Linked DNA regions of Homo sapiens: all the other regions are linked to region 5. The links are contacts of gene promoters, found by promoter capture Hi-C in human tissues and cell types (Jung and others, 2019). All regions are on one chromosome and are shown on one strand. The core of a region is centred on a gene start or on the middle of the fragment in contact, and the rest is flanking DNA. Distances in the headings are between cores, read along the strand shown.

The links. Contacts are between HindIII fragments. The study calls those that stand out against the background at their distance.
Region 1: a contact is called between a fragment that was not itself captured here and the fragment with the promoter of MDGA1 in region 5, in 1 of the 25 tissues and cell types used here (dorsolateral prefrontal cortex).
Region 2: a fragment that was not itself captured here is called in contact with the fragment with the promoter of MDGA1 in region 5 in 2 of the 25 tissues and cell types used here (dorsolateral prefrontal cortex and lymphoblastoid cells).
Region 3: a fragment that was not itself captured here is called in contact with the fragment with the promoter of MDGA1 in region 5 in 3 of the 25 tissues and cell types used here (adrenal gland, bladder and dorsolateral prefrontal cortex).
Region 4: a contact is called between a fragment that was not itself captured here and the fragment with the promoter of MDGA1 in region 5, in 1 of the 25 tissues and cell types used here (lymphoblastoid cells).
Region 6: a contact is called between a fragment that was not itself captured here and the fragment with the promoter of MDGA1 in region 5, in 1 of the 25 tissues and cell types used here (mesenchymal stem cells).
Region 7: a contact is called between a fragment that was not itself captured here and the fragment with the promoter of MDGA1 in region 5, in 1 of the 25 tissues and cell types used here (lymphoblastoid cells).

What each region holds. Positions count from the first base shown.
Region 1 is chr6:38,644,118-38,648,133 of GRCh38, forward strand. The region is part of intron 1 of LOC105375044 (a long non-coding RNA gene); the gene reads left to right. Among named protein-coding and RNA genes, the nearest start is that of BTBD9, 6.2 kb to the left of the region's middle. The HindIII fragment of the contact is 4,411 bases long and covers 1-3,465 here.
Region 2 is chr6:38,624,680-38,628,383 of GRCh38, forward strand. All of the region lies in intron 1 of BTBD9 (BTB domain containing 9), which reads right to left. Among named protein-coding and RNA genes, the nearest start is that of BTBD9, 13 kb to the right of the region's middle. The HindIII fragment of the contact is 6,152 bases long and covers 1-3,704 here.
Region 3 is chr6:38,410,384-38,414,376 of GRCh38, forward strand. The region is part of intron 6 of BTBD9 (BTB domain containing 9); the gene reads right to left. Among named protein-coding and RNA genes, the nearest start is that of BTBD9-AS1, 69 kb to the right of the region's middle. The HindIII fragment of the contact is 7,702 bases long and covers 1-3,993 here.
Region 4 is chr6:38,599,458-38,602,990 of GRCh38, forward strand. All of the region lies in intron 1 of BTBD9 (BTB domain containing 9), which reads right to left. Among named protein-coding and RNA genes, the nearest start is that of BTBD9, 39 kb to the right of the region's middle. The HindIII fragment of the contact is 4,519 bases long and covers 1-3,533 here.
Region 5 is chr6:37,696,565-37,700,167 of GRCh38, forward strand. MDGA1 (MAM domain containing glycosylphosphatidylinositol anchor 1) reads right to left here and starts at 1,319. Exons shown (of 17, transcript NM_153487.4): 1 at 181-1,319. The coding sequence starts at 247. RefSeq lists an enhancer at 1-672 and silencers at 215-374, 405-694, 875-934, 995-1,124, 1,185-1,254 and 3 more. The HindIII fragment of the contact is 32,962 bases long and covers 1-3,603 here.
Region 6 is chr6:38,440,454-38,444,490 of GRCh38, forward strand. All of the region lies in intron 6 of BTBD9 (BTB domain containing 9), which reads right to left. Among named protein-coding and RNA genes, the nearest start is that of BTBD9-AS1, 39 kb to the right of the region's middle. The HindIII fragment of the contact is 4,862 bases long and covers 1-4,037 here.
Region 7 is chr6:38,557,231-38,561,179 of GRCh38, forward strand. The region is part of intron 6 of BTBD9 (BTB domain containing 9); the gene reads right to left. Among named protein-coding and RNA genes, the nearest start is that of BTBD9-AS1, 78 kb to the left of the region's middle. The HindIII fragment of the contact is 5,193 bases long and covers 1-3,949 here.

The sequences.
Region 1 (4,016 bases), core at 10-2,509, 950 kb after region 5:
TGGAAGTCAAGAGTGTTGTACTTACCTACACTGTTAAGTAAACACAGTATGCCTCAAAAATGGACACAAATATATTAAGGCATTTCCATGGAGGTAAAAAAAGAACAGGAGAATTGTGCTAAACCAGCGTTGTCACCTAACATTCCTTCTAGGTAGTTTTGTTGTGATCTAAATGAATATTTATATATAACTGTTTCTAAACTAAAATTGGTTAGTTGTTAAAATGGACACAAATAAAAGTTAAATGCAAGAATAATTTATATTTTTCCAGTAGATTCAAGAGGAAATATTTTTTGTCACTAATGCCATGCTTTAATACATTTGCTTGTCTAATCCTCATGTATTATCTTACTTAATTTTGTAAACATTAGCTTATTGTATAGATCACTGACAAAGTATCTGTTTTAGCAGATAGGGACAAAGTTTAAATAATTTGGCCAAGGTCATAGTAGACCAAGATTTGGACCCAGCACAAGCATCCTCTTTCCAGGAAACCTTCCCTCAGGCCCTTAGTTGGTTTAAGTGCCCTCTCTCTGTACTATTAGCATATGCACACACATTCATTTTAGCGTTGACTTTAATAATAAGGATGTTTACCATGTACCAGATACATAGTACTTGCACCTATGTTATCTATGTTTAAGTGTTTTGTAGGCATTAGTTCATTTAAGCCTCATAACTGCCCTTTGAAGTAGGTGATATTATTCACAATATTTTATAAAACAGGAAGCCAAGGCATAGAAAGTTAAGTAATTACTCAAGGTACAATTAATAAGTGATAAAGCTAGGATTCGAATCCATGCTTTTAACCCCCCAGGCTTCATACTATGTACCCTTTCCCTTATACTGAGGAATTCTAGAAGGCATAGTTGACAGGTTGTTGTGTGTGATATCACTCTGTGTTCCTCATATGAACACAAGAGAATTTTCTCTCTGAGCCACAAGTCATGAAATATTTGGCTACCCTTGAGTAACTGATGTGTTTTCTCTTTATAGGCAATGTGAATTATATAACTGCCTGTTTTTCACTTTTCACTTTGCCAAGAAGCTCTGAGTAAATTTGTTGGCTCAGCGTTTGTAAGTGGGTGAATTGGCCTGCATATCTGTATTCTGTTGCTTTGAAATTTTTAAAAATAAATAGTTGAGAGAAAAATAATGTAAATTTTCTTTATTTTCCAAATTGTTGACAATGTACAATGATAATTTTTATAATTAGAAAAATAAACTTTGTTCTTAAAAGAACGTTTGAAGCTTCAAATGATTTCTCATGCTTTGACTCTGTGAATAAGAGCTGGTTTCAGGTTAAGTTGCATGAGTTAAATATAGAATCCAGGTTCATATAAAACCAAGACTTCTGTATGACCTGGAAAGTCCAGATCAATAGAATTGTTCAGACGGATCAAAAAGTATTTTAGGTAGCATAAAATAGTTGTAGCCCTTCTTGTTTTTAACTTATGTTTAAGTAATTTGAAACCACTTTTAGGTTATTTGGACACATGCTCCCTCGCTTTAGAAATCAAAAAACCCATTATCTTCCTATATGCTGATGATATTTTATTATAATAAACTTTATGGCTGATTTTGTTGCTCACCGTTTATCAGAAGGAATGGATCAAGATCACCTGTTCCAAAACTAAAATAATTTTTTAGGGCACATGTCCTCAAATTTAATTGGCTTAGATCCAGTAACTAAATACCACGTTAATTTATTTACTTAAGGGTATGTTTTGCAAGTAATTCTTCCAGGTAGATTTACTGGCCAGCCACTTTGCTAAAAGCCATACATTTCATGGGAGCATTAATTAGATTTTCCTACCGTCAGAGTGAGCAACTGATCATTTCTTCTTTGAAAAATTTCAATCCAAATTTTGATCATTCTCCAACAGAGCATTCTAATGCCTAAATGGCCTAGGCAGGTGGGTAAGTACTCTATACTCAGCCCAGCAGATTGTTGCTATGTGGTATAAGCATCCAAAGTTGCCAGATTTGAAATCTGTTGACCTCTAAATATTGGTAACTAATGGGAATTTTTTTTAAAGAAAAGAAAAACATGACTTGTCTGTGAGTTCGCAGACCTCTTGCTCTATTGGATGGAACTTGATGGTCTTGAACACTTATTTTTTTTATTTTTGAAGTGTTGTTTTTTTAAGGAAAATCCTAGATTGCCTGCAGGGGCTCTCTCTATTCACTACCATATGGAGAGGAATGTTCCTATTTAGGTGAGAATCTTAATAGGGTGACTCACTCTTCACAAAAGGCTGTCAGCCCTCTACCATCTGCTTTTTAGATTACTGAATTCTAAACAGTATGTATCTGCCTTTAGTCAGCCACACAATATTAGCTGGTCCATCAGGACACTGCATACCTGACCATATTGTCCTGAGCACACACACAGAAACTTTCCTCATCCACCACCAAGAGTGTTTTCATGGCTTGTATTTTGAGTATTGTGTCTTCTGCATATGTTAAGCAATTCTGGAAGAGACAACTCCACAGAGCCCACCAGTGCATTGTGTGGGCAAATAGGCAAAGCTTCCCCTCTGCCCTCTGAAGCTGTGCTGAAAATGAACTGACAATATGCAGATTAGGAGAAAAGGGTATGCAAATTTATTAACGTGCATAAGCACAGGGGAATCACAGGAGAATGATTATCCAGTAACACAACGAGGTCCAGATGCTTATATACCCTTAATAAGAGAAGGAGAGATGGGGGAGATGTGGTAATTTTAAGGGACAGTAAGTTATTTTTAGGAGGAATAAATGGCTCCAATGCTCAGGCAATGGTTAGTAAATGATTCTCTTTGGGAATTGAGTGGGAAGGGAAAGTGGATGATAGTTTGGGACAAAGTTTGGGCTCTACATGTGGTGTTTAATTTTCAGTCTCTTCCTCTGATGTGAGGTTTAATCTCTAGTTAATTTCAGGGAGGGAATCAAAGGCAATTGTGTTCCTCTTTGATGGGTCCAATTTATAGGTATATAAGGGAACTAAAGAGAAGAGCCTCATCCTGAGCTTTAGGAGAGATAAGATTGGAGATGGGATGTGGGTGAAGAGGTGTCAGATTTTGAAGCTGCTTCTTTAGTACTTCAAAGTGCCATATATTGGGGTATCATCTTCTAAGCTCCAATAGCTTTTACTATAGGATTGTTACTGTGCACTTGATCACATGAGAATTTTCTTTCAGAGCCAGGTATCATGAAGAGCTTGGCTACTCTTGAATAACTGATGTGTCTTGCTTACAGCAAGTGAATTGCATAGCTGGATATGTGTTCCTTTTCACCTTAGCTGCCATGAAGCTCTGAGTCAAAGTGTGGCTCCATTTTAGTGCCTGAGTAGAAACCTGTGGTCTGTATATCTGCATTCTAATTTGTTTTCTACTGGTACTGAACCTTGTACTTAAGTTTGGGTTTTCTCCTTCTCTGGTTTATCTATAATTTCCTTTTGCGACGGAATCTCACTCTATTGCCTGGGCTGGCTGGAGTGCAATGGCGAATCTCAGCTCACTGCAACCTCCGCCTGCCGGGTTCACGCAGTTCTCCTGCCTCAGCCTCCCAAGTAGCTGGGATTACAGGTGCATACCACCACGCCTGGCTAATTTTTTGTATTTTTAGTAGAGATGGGGTTTCACTATGTTGGCCAGACTGGTCTTGAACTCCTGACCTCATGATCCACCCACCTCGGCATCCCAAAGTGCTGGGATTATAAGGGTGAGCCACTGCACCCAGCCGGCTTACCTATAATTTTCTACATTCTGTTTGTAATTTCACTAGCCACTTCAAGTTGTTTGTGAAAAAACTAGGAAAATGAATGGTAAATACACTTATGATGACTATCTTATTCCTAGTCCCTTTCCCTCACTTCAGGTAAAAGTTAAAACTTATACACCTGGCCAGGCACAGTGACTCATACCTGTAATCCCAGGACTTTGGGAGGCCAAGGCAGGCAGATCAACTTGAGGCCAGGAGTTTGAGACCAGCCTGGCCAACATGGTGAAACCCCGTCTCTACTAAAAATACAA
Region 2 (3,704 bases), core at 522-3,021, 930 kb after region 5:
CCAGAAAAAAAAAACACTGTAAGACAGAAACAAAATAAAATAATTTATAATGAAATAATATTTATCTCATAAAATTACATTAGAAGACAAAGATACTCCTATAAATTTTCATCATGTCCTATGAGGGGAGATTCCATGTCTAATAAGAACTGGTTTCAAGAATTAGTGTACCTAGAATACATGGACTCCAATTTAGGAGAATAGTTAATCTTGAAATGTCTAGTATTTGCTAATTTTGTTTCTTTTTGTATCATGTTGTAAGGCAGTTTTCATAGTTACATTAGTATTATATTTTTATTCTAACCTTTTTCCAAAATGGACTTAGGTTTGAAAGCTTCATAATTTCCCTTTTGTCCTTCTCCTCCTCAATTATTAAGTACTCACTGGGTACATGACACTATTTCTTGAAATTAATTCTCACAATTAAGTAGACCTTTAAAGCTTCTAATTCATTTCCCAACTCACATTTTTCAGATGTGAAGAGAAAATCATCATCATCTAGTAGCTCATTATACATGCTATAAAATATTTCACCGTTTCACCCCATCTGTGAAGTTGGCCACAGTAAACATGTTTTGTTGCCTTAGTCAAGATTTACGATAATATAATAATGTAATTTTAAAGGCCATATGCCAAAGTACTTCCTAAATTAATAAAAATACTTAGCATTTAACCTATAACACACTTTAAAATCATCACATAATCTTGCAGGTAGCTACTTGCCCATTTGCCCAGGGCTAGTAACAATTGATGGAGAGCCTGTCACCAAGCCTATTTACTTGATTTATTTTACAGTAGCTTTCTAAGGCCACATACATAATGGGTACTCACTTTGTGATGGGAAAATAAATTATTTGGTCTGGACAACCTGACAGTGTTACTATTAAGTTATTAATTTGCTAAGAGGGAGTAATTCCCTGAATAGCCTTCTTTCCTGCCCAAACAAGAACACAATTAGTAAATATTCACAGATTCCTAGAACATAGAGCTGAAAAGAATTCAAGCATCATAACTATGACTTTTTACAGATGAGAAAACTGAGGGACTTGTTCAAAGTCACAACATTCAAAGGCAGAACCTGAGATAGAATAAGGAGAGATACAGCATCTCAACTTTCTCATTTAGAAAATGGTCGCTGCCCCTAAAGGGTAACTATGAGGATAAAATAAAACACATGAAGGACATAGTACAGTGCTTCACATGTAACAGTCATTTCATACTATCATTTTCCTTCTCACATTTTCTTTCTGACATGTATATTGCACTGACAACAAATTACACTCCATTCAGGAACAGGAGTCACCTGAAGGCTACAGAGGAATCACCTAACCCCAACTCTCATAAGTTAAGTCTATACTCCCAAAAGTTTCAAGGACTTTCAATTTGTTGGACTGAGCCCAAGCCAATGTCCCCAGAGTTGAGAGTATGCAGTTTACAGCCAACTGTTCAACCTTGTGCTCCACACATACTTAAAAAAAATTTTATTATTTAATTTTTGTGGGTACATAGTAGGTATATACATTTATGGGGTACATGAGATGTTTTGATACCAGCGTGCAATGCATAATAATCACATCATGGAAAATGGGGTATCCATTCCCTCAAGCATTTATCCTTTGTGTTACAAACAATCCAATTATACTCTTTTTAGTTATTTTTTAAATGTACGATTAAATTATTATTGGCTATAGTCACCTTGTTCTGTTTTCAAATACTAAGTCTTATTCATTCTTTTTTGCTTGTTTGTTTGTTTGTTTGTACCCATTAACCGTCTCCTACTAGACTACAAGTTTTTTTGTGGGCAGGAACCACAAATGATTCTCCTTTGGACCCAGAGCACCTAATATTACCTAGCAAGAGGTCAACACATGTTTGCATGGATGAAAGAGAAGCTGCCTGGGCATCTCCTTCCCAGCTCCACCTGAATTAGGTCAATTCTTATCATAAAGGAGCCACACCATACTCGAATTCAACTTACATGAATTTAACTATTTATATGGAATAAGTTAGAAATAGCGGGGCCTACTCACCACTCCACTTAGTGACTACATGCTCTTTGCTGCAATCAAGCCTAAAACAAAAGGTGTGAGTGATTTTAGAAGTTTCTCAATCACTGGTAAACAAGTGAGGAATTAAATGAAGGCCCTAAAGAAGCACTGACCACAAAGAGCTAGAGAAATAGTAGAACACAGTCATCCCGCCTTGAGAGAATTAACCTTCCTTAAAAAACTCATTTGGTGATTTCTCCACATCAAAAGAATTTAATTACCACTGAAATAAATGGCACACAATTACTTCAGTAAAGTATACATATTTTAATGTTTACGTAATTAAACTTTCAATCTAGGGGTGACAGACCAGTAAAGAGAGCAAAGAAATCAATGAAAACTATGCAAATGCATACAAGATTATTACCACTTTAAAGCAGCAAATGAACTATCTGAGAGAACTTCACCAACCCACCAATTACACCACGGCAAAGATGGCTTCACAGTGGTGCTTATGATGCAGGTCAGAAAATAAAGGTGGCACTCATGAAATGAGGTGCTGATAAGCCAGATTAGGGGTGTCTTATAAAACTAGTAAAATTAAATTCTCATAATCCAAATTAGCTCATTTTTGGACAAGCTTGTATTAAGAAATCCATGACATGGTGCTCTGTAGGCATTAAGGTACTGATATGGAACAGCCTCCAAGATATAATGAGAGAAAAGCAAGATGCAGTACAATATATATGGGCTTAAGAATAAACATTAGAATATGCCACATATACACAGCATGTTTCTGAATAGATATGCAAGAAACTTTATTATTTTCAATCTCCCCCAGTAGAATGGACACTCCATTAAGGCAGATCTTGGCCTATTTTGTTCACCCCTGCATCCCCAAACACAAGAACAGCACCGGTGTTGGCAATGAACCAATGGTAAGCTGTTTCAAAGAGGTGGAACTGGATGTCTGTGGGGTCAGGATGGGAGGGCGACTTAATTTCCACTGTAAATGCTGTCATATTTTAAAATTTTGTACCATTTTTATAAATTACCTCCTTAAAAAGTGATTTTTTTTTAACAAATGAGTCGCTCAATGAGATGTTACAAAGATTTATTAGGCTGACTTTCATCTCCAGGACTTTAGCAAGGTACTAACTAAAAACTGCAGCATGAGTATTAGCAGGCTTGACAGGAGTGAGACTCATGCTGTTACTAAAAAGGATCAATAATAACTAGAAAATTTTAACTGGTTTAACCACCTCAGAAAACAGTTTCCTACTATTTACTAAAATTGAAGCTCTGCCTATCATATGACTAAGCAATTCTATTCCATATATCCTAAAGTAAGGTGTATTTGTGAGGCATGCGCAAAAAGGGTCATAACTTTTTTATTGATAAGCAGATTATCTATCTGGGAGTGGGTAGGAACAAAGTAGAAGGGACAGAAGACATGGGAGTGACACTTCTCTGAGAATAACTTCAACTTTTGGAACCATGTTAACATTTCACATACTCAAAAAAGGACAATAAATAAAATGAAAAATAGAGAGAGGGGCACCTAACATGAAACATAAACAGAATCAAATGAACCAAACTGTAGTTCAAATGAATAACATAACCACACAGAAGAAAGCAGGGGAGAAGAGAAGTACTAACTCCTATAACTCTGAATACAGTATTTGGACTACAGGTCCCCACGCTAACATTTGTTAA
Region 3 (3,993 bases), core at 1,114-3,613, 710 kb after region 5:
GATCACTTGAGCCCAGGAGGCTGGGGCTGCAGTGAGCCGTGACCACACTACTGCACTCAAGCTTGGGTAACCAAGTGAGACCTTATCTCAAAACAAACAAACAAAAAAAAGAATAAAAAATAATGTTAATGGAATAATCTCAAAAACTTAGCATTTTTTATTCCATGAAACTGAAGAACTGTGCTATGGAAGATTTTTTAAATGAACAGCTCTAAAATAACTTTCATTGATAAGAAAACATGAAAATATTACCTGGTCATGTAACACCTATGAATTAAACATCTTCAGTGAGGAAGTTCCTTAGAGAATGATACTGAATGACTAACTTAACAATGCAACAGTGTGCAATGTCATGTCACGAGGGCCGGGTACAGTGGCTCACACCTATAATCCCAACACTTTGGGAGGCTGAGGTGGGAGGATCACTTGAGCCTGGGAGTTCAAGACCAGCCTGGGTAACATAGTGAGACCCTGTCTCTATAAAAAATAATTTAAAAAAACAAGAAAATATCATGTCATGAATTCACATATTATTCATGCAAGTGGTTCCCTGCATGTATCTCCAGTCCAACCTCTCTCTCTTGTGACCTCCTGTCCCACATTCTGATTGCTGACCAGGTAGTTCTACTTGAATATCCTTACCAACTCTCCATACTCAACCTGGCCCAAACTGAGGGGCAACATGCATAAAAAAGAACATGGCATGAAAGTAGACTTGCACGCCGTGTTCTTGGAGAGGAAGACAAGATCAGAGGATGCCACTACTCTCTAATTCTAATTAATAACATCTCAGTAAGAATACCATAACCCATTCCCCATCAAAATTAGATAAGTTGATTATAAGGCTAATTTAGAAGAGCAATCATGCAAGAATAGCCAAGAAAACCCTGAAAAAGAAGAGCAGATATTAAAACATGTTATAAAGCCTCTATAAATAAAATAATGTAGTATTGGCACATGAATCGACTGCTCAGTGGTGTGGAGTAGAAAACCCAAGATATAGAGCCAAACTACATTTGAAATTGTATGTTTATTATTTAACAGAGGCAACAACGCAAATCAGGGATGGGCTTTTTAATAAGTATTGTTGGGTTAACCAGATGGCCATACGGAAAAAGATAAAATCGGATACATTCTTTCTCAATGTGCTTTAGTTCCAAAGCAAACAAACAAAAAATCAGATCCATCTTCATACTGTACATGAGGATAAATTCCAAATGAATCAAAGACTTAAATATAAAAAATGAAAAAATATTAAGCATAAAAAAAATGCCAGGTGTAGTGACTCACACCAGTAATCCCAGCACTTTCGGAGGCCAAGGCGGGCAGATTACTTGAGCTGAGGAGTTTGAGACCAGCCTGGGCAACATGGCAATACCCCGTCTCTATAAAAAACATTAAAAGTCAGCCAGACACGGTGGCGTGCACCTGTAATCCAAGCCACTCAGGAGGCTGAAGTGGGAAGATCGATAGAACCCAGGAGGCAGAGGTTACAATGAGCCAAGATTGTGTCATTTGGGCAACAGGGCAAGACTCTGCCTCTGCCTATATATATATATGTGTACACACATACACACACATATACACACACACATACATATATATGTACACACACATATATATAAAATAAAATAATTTTAAAATGGGTCAATTCCTCTATATTCTGAAAGTAGAGAAACATTTCCTATGTGACTCATCATCCAGATGCAAAAAGGAAAAAGACTGATCAATCTGACTACATAAAAAACAAAATTCTACATACTAAAAACAAAAAAAAGCAACACAAAAGTACAAACAAAAAACTGAGAAAAAATATCTGCGACTTCTATCACAGAGAGATTAATATTCCTAATATATAAAGAATTCCTAAAATAAAGAACTGAAGCCTGTGTTGAAAACTGGAAGACAGAACCAAGCGGAGTTCACAGAAAAGATCGGCAAGCATCCCCAAAACACACGAACATATGCTCAACTTCCTTCTCGATAACAGAAATGAAAAGCTCTCACCAACTAGATCTCTCAAAGTTTGAAAAACATACTCTGTTGTTAAGAGTGTAGGGAAACAGGCCCTCTCATACACTGTGGGTAGGAACTGGGGACATTTGAGGGAGCAGCTGAAGTCTTACGACTATGTAACAGTGTACAAAGGAGCCAGCAGCCATTTGGACTACATTAAAAAAAAAAAAAAAGTCTGACCAGGTGCGGTGGCTCACACCTGTAATACCAGCACTTTGGGAGGCTAAGGTAGGCAGATCAAACGAGGTCAGGAGTTTGAGACCAGCCTGGTGAACAGGGTAAAACCCTAACTCTACTAAAAATACAAAAATTAGCCGGATGTGATGGCGTGTGCCTATAATCCAAGCTATTCAGGAGGCTGAGGCTGGAGAATCACCTGAACCCAGGAGGTGGAGGTTGCAGTGAGCCGAGATCAGACCACTGCACTCCAGCCTGGGTGACAAAGCGAGACTCCATCTCAAAACAACAACAACAACAACAACAACAAAACAGTCGGAAATTTTGTAAACTGCCTTAGAAATTCCCAGTCTAGCCCACTGTGTATAGTTGTATATGATGAGTAGTTGCACATGGACTATATAAAGTGGTACTTAACGGAACTGTTCAATGTGTGGCCCTGCTACCAACCGCCTAACCCTTAGGAAATCATTTCTTCCTACCAAACTCTTCTTTTGATTCAAATTAAGCTTAGTCCTTCCATCTCCATCCTTTCCTTCTTTCCTTCCTTCCTTCTTTTTTCTTAACTATGCCCTTAGGGAGGACAATAACATCCCTCTTTTAAAAAGTATTCTTTCCCAAACTTAGACTCCTCTTCAGTAACGTGGCTTAAACTAGGAAAGACAAACTGAAATGTCCACGTGGGTGGCATGCGAGCTGGATGAGGACAGACTGGAGAACATATGCTTATACTCACTGCAGTGAGGCAGCGGGGGCTGTGGATCTGATGTTGAAAAAGTTTCCTATTTTTCAAGAGCAGCTGGTGATTTGGATATTTTTAAGAGAAATTTCCCAATTTTTAAGAGCTGGCATCCAATTTTTATTTCCTTACACTGTATAGGCCAAACAAAAATGCCACTGTTTAGACCTCTAGTTTGCAAGGCCTGTTTTACATCTTTTCTCAGCAGGCTTATTTTTTAACCAATTAATCATCTAGATTGCTCTTCTCTAGACCAGCCAGTTATTCATCACTTTCAAAATACAGAGATCAAAAAGGGACATCATTTTCTAAGAATGTGATGTGACTGGTACATCTCTGTTTTACATGTCATTTTCCTGTACAAACATTCTAGGACTTCATGCTTTTTTTAAAGAGTAGTGTATCCCATCCTATGCTGGAACTTGCTCATGGTCACACAACTACTATTTTTTTTAAACAATATTCTAATTAGAAACCAATTACTTTGATGCCTGGTTCAGCCCTTCTGTCTCACTGACCTACTGTGTAACCTTCAAGTTTCCCAACCATAAAATGAGAATAATAATAATAATCCATAAAATGGTTGTAATAAGGTGTCTATTGATGGGGTTTTCGTGAAGACTGAATGATTTGTTATGTGTAAAGTGTTCTGCACAATGCCTGGCACCTAGATACACTTTCCAGACAAAGTGACAAGTGCTGTTATTGTAGCTATTATGCAGCTATATGCTCATTTAACATAGTCCAGAGTACCCCCAAAAGTTTCACAGAAGTTTAGGTGTTACATTTATTACCTTATCTTTATGTTTGTGGACTATCACTAAAAGAGACTGAACTGACAAAATTCGCCATTTACAAAAACAAAATCATTGCTATTCAGTACCTTGTGCTTGTGAAGGTGCTTATTTTAAGTGGATTGCTTGATAATATGTTGTAATATTCTCCCTGCTATCTGGAATAGGAAGACATCCATAACTACTGGGGTCATCCAGAAGGTATTCTCTCATTCTTATAGCTGTCTTTTGTGTTCCATGGCATCTCATACATAATAGCTAATAGTG
Region 4 (3,533 bases), core at 438-2,937, 900 kb after region 5:
GGTACTGCTTTGATAAGTGTAAGTAACTGGCAAGTATGTCAGAGGCTTGGCTAGCATTCAGATGCCCCCGGTGAAGAGGTAGTTGATAGCTCAGAGGTAGCCAGCTACGCCTCTGCTGCATCAGAGACTAGAGAAATTGAGACAGATATGTTATCTCTGCTAGACCTCCACACCTTTTTGAGCTCTCCAGTTGAACCACAATTAAAGGTTGAACAGCTCTTAATCTTTAAACTCCCACATCCAGATCATTATTAGCAAGGTGTGTCAAAAATAGTCTTTCTCTTCTGTGACTGCAATGGAAGATCTTCATGGACCAAGTTCCGAATCTGCCTGCTTTAGTTAACCTACCACCATATGCCCACCCTCAAAAGGGGGAGCAATAGCAGCGATGCAGAAGAACATGGAAAATGAGCTAAGCAAGAAAACACCTACCCAGGTAAGTGAGCAAAATCCTGGTTCTCTACAGTAGGAACATCAGAGAACTAGCAGGATAATCCCTTAACTGCCAAGGTAAATCCTTCTCCCTCAACTGCAGCCTCCATTTGAAAGCCCTAAAAACAGAATAATCTCTAGTCACTTGTGTATGAAAGACCAAATTCAGCTTAAGAGGATCTATTTGAGAGTATGAGCAAGTAATGTGTGACACAGTAGTCTTAATGTGTACACACAACAACTGTGTAATATAGGAGCTGGAAAACTTTCTATAAAGGGTCAGACAGTACATGGTTTAAAGCTTTGCAGGTTATACAATCTACGTCAAATGATTCAGCTCTATGGTAGGAGCCTAAAGGCAGCCACAGGAAATAAGAAAATGAATAAACATGGCTATCTCCAGTAAAACTATTTCTAGAAAAGACCTAGATTAGACTCGCAGGTCATAGTTTGCTAGCCCCTGGCCTACCCCGTGATCAAGGACTGACGTCAGGGACTGACTGTACCCTAGGCAAAGGATCAGACTGGGAGTTTTTTTGTTTGTTTGTTTCTTGCTGGGTTACCCAGTTGATGTTCCTATGATCATTTCCTATGTTGGTCAGGAAATTCAGAAAGCTACTGGTACCTGACTTCAAAACCTCTTCAATACAAACTCTCACATCACTCTCCAATATTTCAATGATCGTGCATGATTCTAAACAAAACGCTCTTCCTGGCTGAAAAAAAATGCAATGTATATACCCAGTAAATATATTTAATATATTTTCTGGTATATTTTCTTAATATTTTATTGAGGTCATGGCTAATACTCATATTACTTACTAAATGACTCTTGATGAACAACGATTGATTTTTGGTTAACCAGCTCAGAAGGGAAATTTATTTCTTAAACTGATATATCATAAACATTAATATTACATATGTATCTACCATAATAAGTTCTCCAGATCTCTACTTCTCAATACATCTAATTTCATTTTGCTAAACTTGCATTTTAATTATGTTTTTCCAAATGGAAACATGAAACTGTTTCGTGTATAGAAAACAGCCACTTAGGATAAAATAAACACAATTTTATTGGCATACATAAATAATTTTAATTAGACTAGTGATTCTCAATGAGCTTGCCCAACATTGGAATCAAATGGGGAGCTTAAAAACAACAAAAAAAAAGATGCTCGAGTCCCACTCATCAGAGACTCTTATTTAATTAGTCTAGAATGGGGCCCAGGCATTGGAATCACCATTCTGAAGTGATTCTACTAAGCAACCTGGAAAAACAGCCACTGATTTAGACTCTATATTGTTGTAGGTTTCCATCCCTTGCTCAGGTGTACAAGTATACAAAAACATCCACAGAAAAAATTTATTTAGGATATAATTTAATTTGAATCTTATTGCAAAGATGTAAAAGATACTAACAAAGTTACCAATGGCACAGCTTTACGCAGAAAATGAGTATTGTTTCACCAATGGGATAGTTTACCTACAAAGTGATAGTTTCAGTCTACCTATGTGTATTTTAAAAAGTATGCTGGCCAGGCACAGTAGCTCATGCCTGTAATCCCAGCACTTTGGGAGGCTAAGATATGCAGATCATTTGACACCAGGAGTTCAGGACCCTGTCTCCACAAAAAAATTTAAAAATTAGCCAGGCATGGTGGCATGAGCCTGTAATCCCAGCTAATTGGGAGGCTGAGTCAGGAGGATCACTTGAGCCCAGGAGTTAAAGGCTGCAGTAAGCTATGAATGTGCCACTGCACTCCATCCTGGGCAACACAGCAAGACCCTGTCTCAAAAAAATAAAAAAGAAAAGAAAGAAAACCAAATTAAAGTTAAATGGATTAGGAAACAAAGAGGCAAAAAAATCAATATTTGCAGATAATGACTGCCCACATGAAAAATCCATGAGAATCAACTGAAAAAAAATTAGAGAAAATAAGAGGGGTTCACTAAAGTAACCACATAAAATAATTATATGAAAATATCTAGCATTCTTCCATGCCAAAAACAACTAGCTAGAAAATATTAGTAAAAAGATCTGCAATTTATAATTGCAAAACACATGTAACATGTAGTAATAAACTCATAGGACATGTAAGGAAATTATAAAACTCCACTGAAAGATTTAAGAAAAATACAAAGACATAAGTTGTTTGGGGATAGAATGATCCAATATTATAAAAAGATCCATATTTTCAACTTACCATGGGTTTATCAGGACGTAACCATATTGTAAGTCTAGGAGCATCATTTATATAAATGTAGCATTTCAATTAAATGGGGGAAAATAAGGATTTTTTTCAATAAAAGGTATTGGCTAGCCATTTGGAAAAAAGCTGAACAGTCACATAAGAGTACAAAATGAAATATATATGGATGTCAGCTTCAGCACTTTCTGTAAAGCAAAAAAACTGGAAAAAACCCTGAAGGCCCATTTAAAGAGAATTGGTTAAATAAATAATGGTATGTCTATACAATGAAATATTATAAATTATTTAAAAAGAATAAAGTTAGATACTAATGAACAAAAAAATCTTAAGTATGTGTATTTACATGCAAAAGACAATCTACAAAACAATAGTATAGTGAAATATCTTGTTTAAAAAAATACACTGAAAAAGCAAGAATATAAGTCAAATTGTTAACCAAGGGTTAAGTCACTAGACTGGGGCTGTTGGAAAATTTTACATAGTGCACTACATACTTTGTAATGTTTACAAATTTTATAATGTTTATTTGTAGTAAAACTATAAACAAATATGTCAGTAAGTTTGGCCACAAAATTACAAAATAAATTGCTTTGTTTGTGAGATAAGTGTTTGGATTTGCCATAAGCAATAGAAATTGATTTAGTGACTAAGACAGAAATGGCAAGCAGAAGGGCTATGTATTATCTCCACAGAGAAAAAGTAATTAACAACTTGAAGGCAAGGACATAAAGTTCATTACATTAAAACTGGCAAGAGAAAAAAAAAGTTCATTACACTAAGACAGGTAAATCAGATACCTGGGTAGCATGGCCTACTAGGACATTCCATCTGATATATCCCAACTAAAGATCTTCACCTAAGAGAGTTTCAGTCTGACTTTTTCTAGAC
Region 5 (3,603 bases), core at 69-2,568:
CCCCTGTGTTCCGAAGCAGCTAGCTCGGTCTCCACGCGCCCTGGAGAGGGCGGGGACGCGGGCATCCACTCCAGAGTCCGAGTCGAGGTCTCCACCAAACCCCGGCAGCGCGCACTTTGCGCCTCTTGCAAAGTTTCCGCGCGAGGTTAAGCCAAGGTGGAGCGGGACGCGGGCTCTTACCGTAGACTCCTTGTCCCCGGCAGTGGAAGGGGATCAGCGCCAGAAGTAGAAGGCAGGTCACCTCCATCTTCACGGCCGGTGCTTCATCCCCGCGAGGCGGCGCAGCCCGAGAGGCGGCGGGGGGCGCATTCGCCGGGGCCCCGCGACGCCCCTATGTCCCCCCCTTTCCCTGAGAGGTGAGAGAGAGAGCGGCGACGAAGACCAGGAGACTGAAGAGGCGGAGGTGGCGGCGACCCGTGTTTCTCCTCCGGCGGGGCCGCTGCCCGCGTGGGGACGCAGGGGGCGCTGGCCCAGCCCCGGGTGCCTCGGCGCGCCCGGCACAGCAGCCAGCGCCCCGACCCGAGGAGCCCGGCCGCCGAGCCGCCCCGGGTACCCAGGGCCGTCCGCGCGGGATGCTAGGCGCCGGGGACCTCTCGGCGGCGGAGGCGGCGCTTCGATCCAACAGGCCACGGACGACTGACAAACTTGTCGTTTCCCCGCACTGGGGCCGCCCCTCAGCGGAGCGGAGTCGGGGAGGCCGGGGCTCCGCTCGAGTTAATCAATCTGCTGTTTCCAGTCCTGCGGCCGCTGCCGTGGGCTCAGCGGCCCGACTCCAGGGGGCCGGGCTGAAAGCACTCGCGGCGGCGAAGCAGCCCCGGGCCCGGCCCTCCTGATCCGGGGAGCAGCGCGGGCTGGGTTCGGCCGAGGGACGAGCGCCGCGGGTCCCCGGGTCCGTGAAGTTAGCCGAGCCGCCGATAAACCCGGGGGAAGAATAGCAGCCCGGCGCCCCGCGGGAATCTGGAGAGCAATTCCAGGCAAGAAGGGCCCCAGAAAACGGGGAAAGGAGGAAAGTTTGAGTCTTTTGAAAAATATTCGCGCTCTCGCCCAGGCCGGGGCTGCGGCGCGGGCGCCGCTCGCCGCCTCCGCTCGCCGCGCTCCTCTCCCGCCGTCTGGCCGCGGCCGTAGCCCTCCCGGGCTCCGAGCTCTCGGGAGAGCGGGGCTACGCCGCGCCCCAAGTTGGTCGTCCCCGCCCCCGCCCGGCGGCCTTGGCCTGCGGGGGCCCAGAGCGGGCGGGGCCGGGCCGGGCTCCGGGGCGCGGCGGCCGCTCGGCTCCGGGCCGCGGGAGCGCTCCGCTCGCTCAGCAACTTGGGCTTTGCTGTGCTGCTTTTTCGCCCCTCCGAGCTTTTCATTCCGCGCTCCTCCCGCCTCCCTCCCTCTCTTCCTCCTCCCTCCTCCTCGCGTCTCCTCGTTCGGTCTCTCGCTCTCCCACCCGTTGTCGCTCGCTCTCCTGTTTGATTCCCCTCCAGTTAAAAAAAGGAGCCAATTAAAGGCAGCCCAGCTCGCCTGGCCCAGCCTCTGTCCAATTTCCTCGCCTCCCCCAGGACCAATTAGAGAAAACAAAACAGGGCTGGGGGAAGCTGACTGCCTGCCTTTCTCTTTCTCTTTCTCTTTCTCTTTCTCTCTCTCTCTCTCTCTCTCTCTCTCTCTCTCTCTCTCTCTCTCTCTCTTTCTCTCTCTCTCCTCTCTCTCTCTTCTCTCTCTCCTCTCTCTCTCCCTCTCGCTCTCTCTCCCTTCCTCTCCTCTCCTCTCTTTCCCTTTCTCCTCTCCCTCTCTCTCTCTTCCTCTCTCCGCCCCCTAACATTCCCCCCCAACCCCGCCCAGCAGGAAAATGTCAGAAAGCAGAAATGGATCCATCTATCCCGAGGACAGTGGCGGAGGGACCTGGGTTTCGGCGGGGGCTCTGCAGCCGCGCGCTCGCACACTCGCTGTTCTCCAGCCTTGCACACCCAGACTAGCTGGCCGAGCCGGGTGCACCGTTGCCAGCAGCCCGCGGGGCAAACACGGCCGCTCGCTTCGGAGACCCATGCCCGCAGGGCACTGCACACTTCGTAAATGTTTTGCACTTTGGGGAGGCGGGACTGAAGCGGGGGTCCTAGGGAAAGGCCGGGCGCCTGCGGTTCCTGGGGTCCTGCAGCCGCGCGAGACGGGCCGCGGCTGTGGGTCTGCAAGGCTGTCTGCCCGGCTCGAGAGGCCCCCGCCCCTTTCCAGGCGTCTGGTGCTGGGGCCGGGCCGGAGCAGCTGGCGGAGAGGTCGCGCTGAGAGCTCCTGCCCTTGCCGCGGCCCACAGGTTGCCAACAGGTTTGCTCGCACGACCCCTCCGCCAGAGCTTCCCTAAGTCACCCCACATTTTCCTCGGCTAGCCACTCTTCCCATCTTGCCTCCCCTCGGGACCTCAGGCGCCCCCAAGCGCCCCGGGGGCACACCTCCTTCCGGCTGCCGAACCCGAGCCCCGCTCCAGCGGCGGGAGTCCGGCACTCGGGTCTCAGCCGCCTCGAAGGGGCCCTCGCGGAGCAGGAGTGCGGAGAACGCTCCTCCCAAACGCCCGCGGGGAGGGGCGTAGGCTGGCAAGCGAGGCTGGTGGCCTCCCCCGCGCCTCCGATCCCGCCCCGCGCCCAACCCGGGTCCTGCTAATCTCACCTGCTCCACCTGTCGCCGTTATTTATCTCAGCGTGTGCGCAAGAATTGTTTTAGGTCGGCCCGTGGGAGCGCAGACAATCGCAGCAGCTAACAAGCGGGGAGACTACGAACCCCCCCTCCCTTCGCCCCCTGGAACTGCTCAATATCTTGATGGTGGTTCCACGGCTCTATGCATTTGTCAAAACTCAAAGATCTCCACACTCCAAAAAGGTTAGTCTGCATATAAATTGAAACATAAATTTTTTTAAAATAATAATAATGAACCGTCCCTTCCCCAGGCCCATTTCCTGCTGGGTCTCTCCTCCCTTGACTCTCCAGGGCTTAAGCCCCACCGGAGCGCGCGCTCCTGACTGCTGGAAGAGGAGCGGGAGGTGTCGGGAAGTGCCTGGTGGCATGGGGGGGTTCCACCTTCCTTTCTCAGCCCCCTTTCTGTCCATCTCAGGAAGCCCGAGAACATCCGAAGATTCCTATTCTCTAGCCCACCTCCACTCGTTTGCGCCTCCCTTGTGCCCTCTTCCGTCTTTTCTCTCCTTTCTACCCCGTGGGTCCAAGGCTGATAGGAAGTCCAGACTCAGTGCGGTGCTCCCAGCAGATGCCAGCTGCAGACATGTTCAGTGAATTCACGAATGATGCCCATCATGGCCAGATATCACAGACCTGGGATACCCTCAGGGTAGCCATCCTTTCACTCCCCAGCCCCGGACTGTTACCTCAAAGGCAAAAAATTCATTTTCTGTCCCACAGAGATACACAGCCACCATGCCTCTTCCCGCCTCCCCCATCCAGTCAGAAAAGGAAGTGGTGCCAATTGAGGGAGTGATGAGGGATAGCTTCTTCTATTGTCATCCTCTTCCCATTATTAGAGGGTTCCTGGAAGTCTCTACCCCTTCCAGGAAGCTCTCAGGGAGTGATCACAGCGACTGTGGCTCTTCCTGGCTTTGCCCATTCTGAGCTGAATGTGTACTT
Region 6 (4,037 bases), core at 1,070-3,569, 740 kb after region 5:
CACTGTGGTAATAATTGGTGACCTTGACAACGGCAGTTTGAGGGTGTAAGATGAGGGAAGGCCTGTTTGGAATAGGTTTCAGAAAGAACACAACCACTTCTGGACAACTTTCTTTTTCAAACATTCTTAGATAAGCTTTTTAAATTCTTCCATCAAGTCCCTTACAATTGTAAAAAGCAAGCAACACTAATGTTAATTAAATGTTTAGTGTATATTATAGTAACATATTACTTTTAGGTATGTCAAATTTATGGCATAATAGACATATTTTAATGTGTTGAATGTCTACTTTATAATGCATTAGGGCCTTCTGTACCACATATACTAATTAAACATTTATGTATATTTTATAAAACTTTTAAAGCACAGATAATGAGCTATAGTAGATATAACACCGGTCAGGGAGCCAGGAGATTTGGGTTTTCTAATACAGCATTGGCCAAATCTAGAATTTTTTTTGATATTGAGTACTAAGTTAGCAAAGTAATTTGCACTTATACTTTTCCTGTAGGAAAACATAATCCATTTTATCATATGCTTCCCAGAAACACCCTGTGGAGAAGTGGAGAAGCTGGGTGACTGCCTATGAAGGCAATAAAGAGAATCACAACCCCAAGGGTAAATTTCATAGAACTCAGAGCCAACACTAAGGTAAAACAGAAACCTTCTAAGGAGCACAGAAACACTGGGTGACACAATTCCAGGCCCAAAGTGTTGTGGGGCTGCTGGCCAAGGTAGCCTGTGTCCCAAAAAGGGCCAATTTAGAGGTCCTGCTTCTAGGTGAAGGGCTAAGAATGTGTTCTCTTGGGTGGTAGTAGATCCTTTGGAGGGACCTAGTCCCTCCCCATTTGTTTGCCAATTCCTACAAATTTGGGGGTGGGGAGGTGGTTGCAGGAGACTTTTGAATACAGAATCCTATATGAGATGCTATAGAGAGTTACAGAGAAGAAACTTATCACCTTATCCTAGGAGATGTTTTTGTTTTAGAGAGGGGGTCCCAGTCTGTCGTCCGGGCTGGACAACGCGAGCCAATCATGGCTCACGGCAGCCTTGAACATCTGAGATGTTCCCACCTCAGCTTCGGGAGTAGCTAGGACTACAGGCACCCGCTACCGTGCCTGGCTAGTTAAAAAAAATTTTTTTTCATAGAAACAGATCTCATTTTGTTGCTCAGGCTGGTCTTACACTCCTGGGCTCAAGTGATCCTCCCACCTTGGCCTCCAAAAGCACTAGTATTAAAGGCATGAGCCACCACACCCAGCCTCTGAGAGATATTAAGAAAGCAATAATAGCTGGCATTTATTGAGCTTTTACTGGGTGCCAGATACTATTCTAAGTGCTTTACATATATTACCTCATTATTCCTGACAACAACCTATGAAGTGGATGTTATCAACAGTCCAATTTTACATATGGCCCAAACAAAAGTTAAAGTCATACAGTTATACCTAAAGGTATACAACTAGAAAGTACAGAGCTGAGAGATAACCCAGTCTGGTTCTACAGCCCCTCTCTGATGCATGAAGCCTTCCTCCCAAAATTCCCGAGATGGTAAAAGTTCCTATTTTAAGGGACCAGGCAAAACTGCGGCAAGAGAGAATAGCTTCCCAGTACTAGATTGCACAGAAATACATATAACAAAATCACAGTGCCTTCATAATGCTGATGTTGGTGAGACAGTTTTTGTTAGGCTCCATTGCTGTTTTGTAGGGGCAACATTTTGTCTGTGAATTCCTATAATAACAGAGTCTGGGCCGGGTGCAGTGGCTCACACCTGTAATCCCAGCACTTTGGGAGGCCGAGGCGGGCAGGTCACGAGGTCAGGAGTTCGACACCAGCCTGGCCAACATAGTGAAACCCCGTCTCTACTAAAAATATAAAAATTAGCTGGGCATGGTGGTGCCTGCCTGTAGTCCCAGCCTACTCGGGAGGCTTGAACCTGGGAGGCGGAGGTTTCAGTGAGCCAAGATCACGCCACTGCATTCCAGCTTGGGCAAGAGAGCGAGACTTCATCTCAAAAAAAAGTCGTACTATATATATATTTAAAATAAAAACAGAAGTACTAAGTACATGGAGAGGAAGAATACACCCAAAGAAGTTAATATGATGACCCCAGAAGCTTCACCCAGTCCACACTGTTTAACAACAGATGTCCCTCCTGTGAAGAAGGAAAGTTGGAGGTCATATAGAACAGACTCATTTGTACTCTTTTTTTTTTTTTTTTTTTTTTTTTGAGATGGAGTTTCGCTTTTGTTGCCCAGGCTGCAGTGCAATGGTGCAATCTCGGCTTACCGCAACCTCTGCCTCCCAGGTTCAAGTGATTCTCCTGCCTCAGCCTCCTGAGTAGCTGGGATTACAGGCATGTGCCACCATACCCAGCTAAATTTGTATTTTTAGTAGATAGGGGTTTTTCCATGTTGGTCAGGCTGGTCTCAAACTCCCAACCTCAGGTGGTCTGCCCGCCTTGGCCTCCCAAAGTGCTGGGATTACATGTGTGAGCCACCGCGCTTGGCCCATTTGTGCTCTTAAAACATAAAAGGATCAAGGATTTTTTAAAAAAAAATTGTAAGAAACTCAAGCTAGACAGAATCATCTTAATTTCTGCTATGTTTGTGAAGCAAGTATTGACTTGGCAGGCAAATGGATTGTGGTGGTATGACTTTGTAACACAATGGACCACATGAACAATTTAACAAACAAAGCTAGAATTCTATACTAACTTTATCAGAGAAGAAAAATTCAGGCTGCTGTGAGGGGAATCAACAGAGACTGAAACCCTGACACTGACAGACAAATGTCCTCTGAAGCCAATATATAACACACTTAAGATTAGTTTAGGCTGGTCTTGCTTCTAGGTGAAGGGGTGAGAATATGTTTTCCCTGGCTCAACTTACCACACCTCAATGCCTACAGATGTGTTATCACCTAACTGTTCACTTGTTTCTGTCATGTGTTTTCATGTTCATTTCACAATGCATGCCCTGCCCCTGTCTCACTTTCCCCTTATTCTGGCATATCAACTCGTATTTCCCAATTTCCCACTATAAAGGGCATACAGTGCTACCACTTCCTCTCTCCTCCAAAATAGCTTCTCCACCATTCTCACTCATTATAGGGATTAGCAAGCAGGCAGCTGCTCAAGCCAGAAATCAGGAAGTTGGCCCTGAACACACTCTCTTTGTCTCTCTCTCTCTTTCTCTCGCTCACTCATTTCCACCTCTTACCCACATGCACACATCCAATTAATCGCCAAGTCCTAAACTGGCTTCCTTCTAAATCTCTCAAATCTATTTACATCTCCTGCCCTTGTTGCTACGACCTTAGCCTCCTAGCTAGCATCTCTTCTCTCATCAAAATTACTAAACAGTCTCCTTACTGGTCTCCCCATCCACTCTGAGCTCCCTCTAATCCACTCCACACCTCTGCCCAGGGGTATGATTCTTCAAAACGGAGCGGTTTTGAAAGATACAAATCTGCTTGTGTCATTCCCCTGCTTAAGTGGTTTCCTGCCTCTACAGGCTGCATCAGTGTGACCTAATCTGCTCTTGCCTTTGGTCACTGTGCTCTCTTCTTAACAGGCTTCTCCCAGTTCTTCACACTGGGTACCTGATCACTAAGTGCTGGACCTTCTTTGTCCATACCTTTTTGCCTTTCCTTATCTACCTCAGCTCTAATAGCAAAGAGCCAGGCTTAACCATCTAGAAGAGGTTAAATCCCCTGGCCATGTGTCTTCATTGGACGTTTTGTGCTTTCCTTCAATGACTGTCTACTTCATGGGAACTAATACTCTGAGAACAGGGATCAGTCATGTTTGTGTTATTCACTACAGTAAATTCCTGGAGTCAGCACAGTGCCTGGCGTGCTTGATAAGTATTTTGTGAATTTACTCCAGAATCATAAAAGAATCATATGGCTGGATGGAAATTTCCTGGTTACTTAGTCCAGCCCACTGCTGATACTTCAATTCTCTTCCTCTAGAGAACTGGAGTCTTTCTTATAGCATATAGAATAATTAGTTAACAAATATTAATAAGGAA
Region 7 (3,949 bases), core at 377-2,876, 860 kb after region 5:
AGCTACTCAGGAGGCTGAGGCAGGAGAATCACTTCACCCCGGAGGCAGAGGCTGCAGTGAGCCAAGATCGTGCCATTGCACTCCAGCCTGGGCGACAAGAGCAAGACTCAGTCTCAAAATAAATAAATAAATAAATAATAAAAAGACCTTTAGAGTCAGACAGACCTCAGCTTCAGTCCCAGCGGTTATGTTCTAGCTGTGTGATTATAAGTTCAATATGCTCTCTAAGCCTCAGTTTCCTCATTTGTGAAATACAATAGTTGGACAATAATACTTATTTCCTGGGTAAGACCAAATGAAATACTCAGTGTCTGGAAAATTGTGGGCCTTACCTATGTTATAAACCATATCTTAGCTAATAAATAATTTTCCTCCTTCTTCCAGGCATTATGACAACAATGTAAACCTTCTACCTGTTTATAAAAACAAGGTATTAGGATATCACTATGAGGACTCTGTCAGAATCCCTTGATAACGCCAATATTATAAACAAAGCTTCCCAAAAAAACAGAGGTCCCAGACCAGGCACATATCTTCTAAGCCTTACAAATAAGGGGGGTAAAGTTATTTAGATATGAGAGTAGCTTCTTTCTCAGTGACAATGTATAACACAACCAACTGTGAAGTTGGACATAGCCAAGTTAGAATCCACTTTTCTGATTTTGAGATCTTAGAGAAATTACTTAACCTTTCTGAGGCTGTGTGAAATGAAGATAATAAATAAGGCCTGCCTCCAAGAGTTGTTTAACGAACTCTTGGTGGTTCATGCCTGTAATCCCAGCACTCTGGGAGGTCAAGGCAGGACAATTACTTTAGCCCAGGAGTTTGAGACCAGCCTGAGCAACACAGTAAGACCCTATATCTAGAAAAAATAAAAAATAAAACCAGCCAGGTTTGGTGGTATGTGCCTGCAGTCCTAGCTACTCCAGAGGTTAGAGGGTAACTTGAGACCAAGAGTTCCAGGGTAAAGTGGGGAATGATTTTGCCACTGCATTCCAGCCTGAATGATGCAGTGAGACCCTTTCTTAAAAAAAAAAAAAATCTATCAGGTCTAGGAGCCTTTTGGTGGAGGCTTTAGGGTTTTCCAAGTATAGAATCATACTGTCAATGAAAAGAGATAATTTGACTTCTACTCTTCCTATCTGGATGCCTTTTATTTCCTTCTCCTGCCTGACTACTCTGGCTAGGACCTTCAGTACTATGTTGAATAGGCGTGGTGAGAGTGGACATCCTTTCTTTTAATGTTTTCAAGGAGAATGCTTCCAGCTTTTGCCCATTTAGTATGATGCTGGCTATGAGTCTGTCATAGATGGCTCTTATGATTTTGAGGTATGTTCTTTTGATGCCTAGTTTGAGGTTTTTTATCATGAAGAGATGTTGGATTTTACCAAAAGCTTTCTGTGCATCTATTAAGATGATCGTATGTTTTAAATTCTGTTCACGTGGTAAATCACATTTATTGATGTGCGTATGTTGAACCAACCTTGCATCCCAGGAATAAAGCCTGCTTCATCATGGGGAATTAACTTTTTGATGTGCTGCTGGATTTGGTTTGCTAGAATTTTGTTGAAGATTTTTACATCTATGTTCACCAAGGATATTGGCCTGTAGTTTTCTTTTTTCCCATATCTTTGCCAGGATATCAGGGTGATACTAGCTTCACAGAATGAGGTAGGGAGAAGTCTCTCCTCCTCCATCGTTTGGAATCATTTCAGTAGAATGGGTAGAATGGGAACCACCAGCCCTTTTCTGGATAGCTGGTAGAATTTGGCTGTGAATCCATCTGGTCCAGGGTTTTTTGTTTTTTGGGTCTTTTTTGTTTGTTTTGGTTGCTAAGTTTACTATAACTGATTCCATTTCGAAACTTGATATTGGTTTGTTCAGGGTTTCAATTTCTACCTTATTCAATCTTAGGAAGTTGTCTGTTTCCAAGAATTGTTCCATTTCTTCTCGATTTTCTAGTTTGTGTGCACACAGGTGTTTTCATAATAGTTTCAGAATACAAAATCAATGTACAAAAATCAGTGGCATTTCCATACTCTAATAACATTCAAGTTGAGAGCCAAATCAAGAATGCAATCCCATTTACAATAGTCACACACATACAGGGAAAAAAAAAACTAGGAATATGTCTAAATAAGGAGGTGAAAGATCTCTACAAGGACAACTATAAAACACTGCTGAAAGAAATTAGAGATGACACAAATGAATGGAAAAACATTACATGCTCACGGACTGGAAGAATTACTATCGTGAAAATGGCCATACTGCCCAATGCAATCTACAGACTCAATGCTATTCCTATCAAAGTATCAACATCATTTTTCACAGAATTAGAAAAAACTGTTCTAAAATTCACATGGAACCAAAAAAGAGCCTGAATAGCTAAAGAAAATCCTAAGCAAAAAGAACAAAGCTGGAGGCATCACATTACCTACTTCAAATGACACTATAAGGTTACAGTAATGAAAACAGCACGGTACTAGTACAAAAACAGACATGTAGCTCAATGGAACAAAATTGAGAACCCAGAAATAAAGCCACACACCAACAACCATCTGATCTTCAACAAAGTTGACAAAAACAAGCGAGGGGGAAAGAATTCCCTATTTAATAAACAGTGCTGGGATAACTGGCTGGTCATATGCAGAAAAATGAAACTGGACCTCTCCCCTTCATTATACACAAAAATTAACTCAAGATGGATTAATGACTTAAATGTAAGACTTCAAACTATAAAAATCATAAAAGAAAACATAGGAAATACCATCTATCTATACATCAGCCTTGATAAAGAATTTATGACTAAGTCCTCAAAAGCAATAGCAACAAAAACTGACATGTAGGACCTAATTAAACTAAAGTTTTGCACAGCAAAAGAAACTATCAACAGAATAAACAACCCACAGAATGGGAAAAAATATCTGCAAACTATGCATCTGACAAAGGTCTAATATCTAGAATTTATACGGAACTTAATTCAACAAGCAAAAAACAAATAGCTCCATTAAAAAGTGGGCAAAGGACATGAACAGACACTCCTCAAAAGACCTACAAGTAGCCAAAAAACATATGAAAAAATGTTCAACATCACTAATCATCAGAGAAATGCAAATCAAAACCACAATGCGATACCATCTCACATTAATCATAATAGCTATTACTATTATTTTTGACTTGTCAGAAATCGATAAAATGTTTTATTTGTATATATGCAAAATCAAAATCTTTTTGTACACAAAATATTTGCAAATTAATAAAAACATAACATTACTGCTAAATATAATCCTTTATATAAACATTTTTAAAACTACACAATATTTTGCTTTCCCTTTTTTGAAATTTATTTTTTTTAACTTTTAATTTAGGTTCAGGGATACATGTGCAGGTTTATTTATATAGGCAAATCCGTGTTACAGGGGTTTGATGCACAGATTATTTCACCACCTAGGTACCCATTATAGTACCCAATAGCTATTTTTCTGATCCTCTCCCTCCTTCCACCCTCCCCGCTCAAGTACACCCCAGTGTCTACTGTTCCCCTCTTTGTGTCCATGTGTTCTCATTATTTAGCTCCCACTTACAAGTGAGAACATACAGCGTTTGGTTTTCTGCTACTGGATTAGTTTGTTAAAGATAATGGCCTCAGGCTCCATCCATGCTCCTGCAAAGGACATGATCTCGCTCTATTTTTATGGCTGCATAGTATTCCATGGTGTATATGTACCACATTTTCTTTATCCAGTCTACCATTGATGGGCATTTAGGTTAATTCCATGTCTTTGCTTTATAAATAATGCTGCAATGTACATATGCATGCATATGTCTTTGTGGTAAAACAATTTATAATCCGTTGGGTATATACTCAGTAATGGGATTGCTGGGTCAAACGGTAATTCTGTTTCTAGTTCTTTAAAGAAATAGCCACACTGCTTTCCACAGTGGTTGA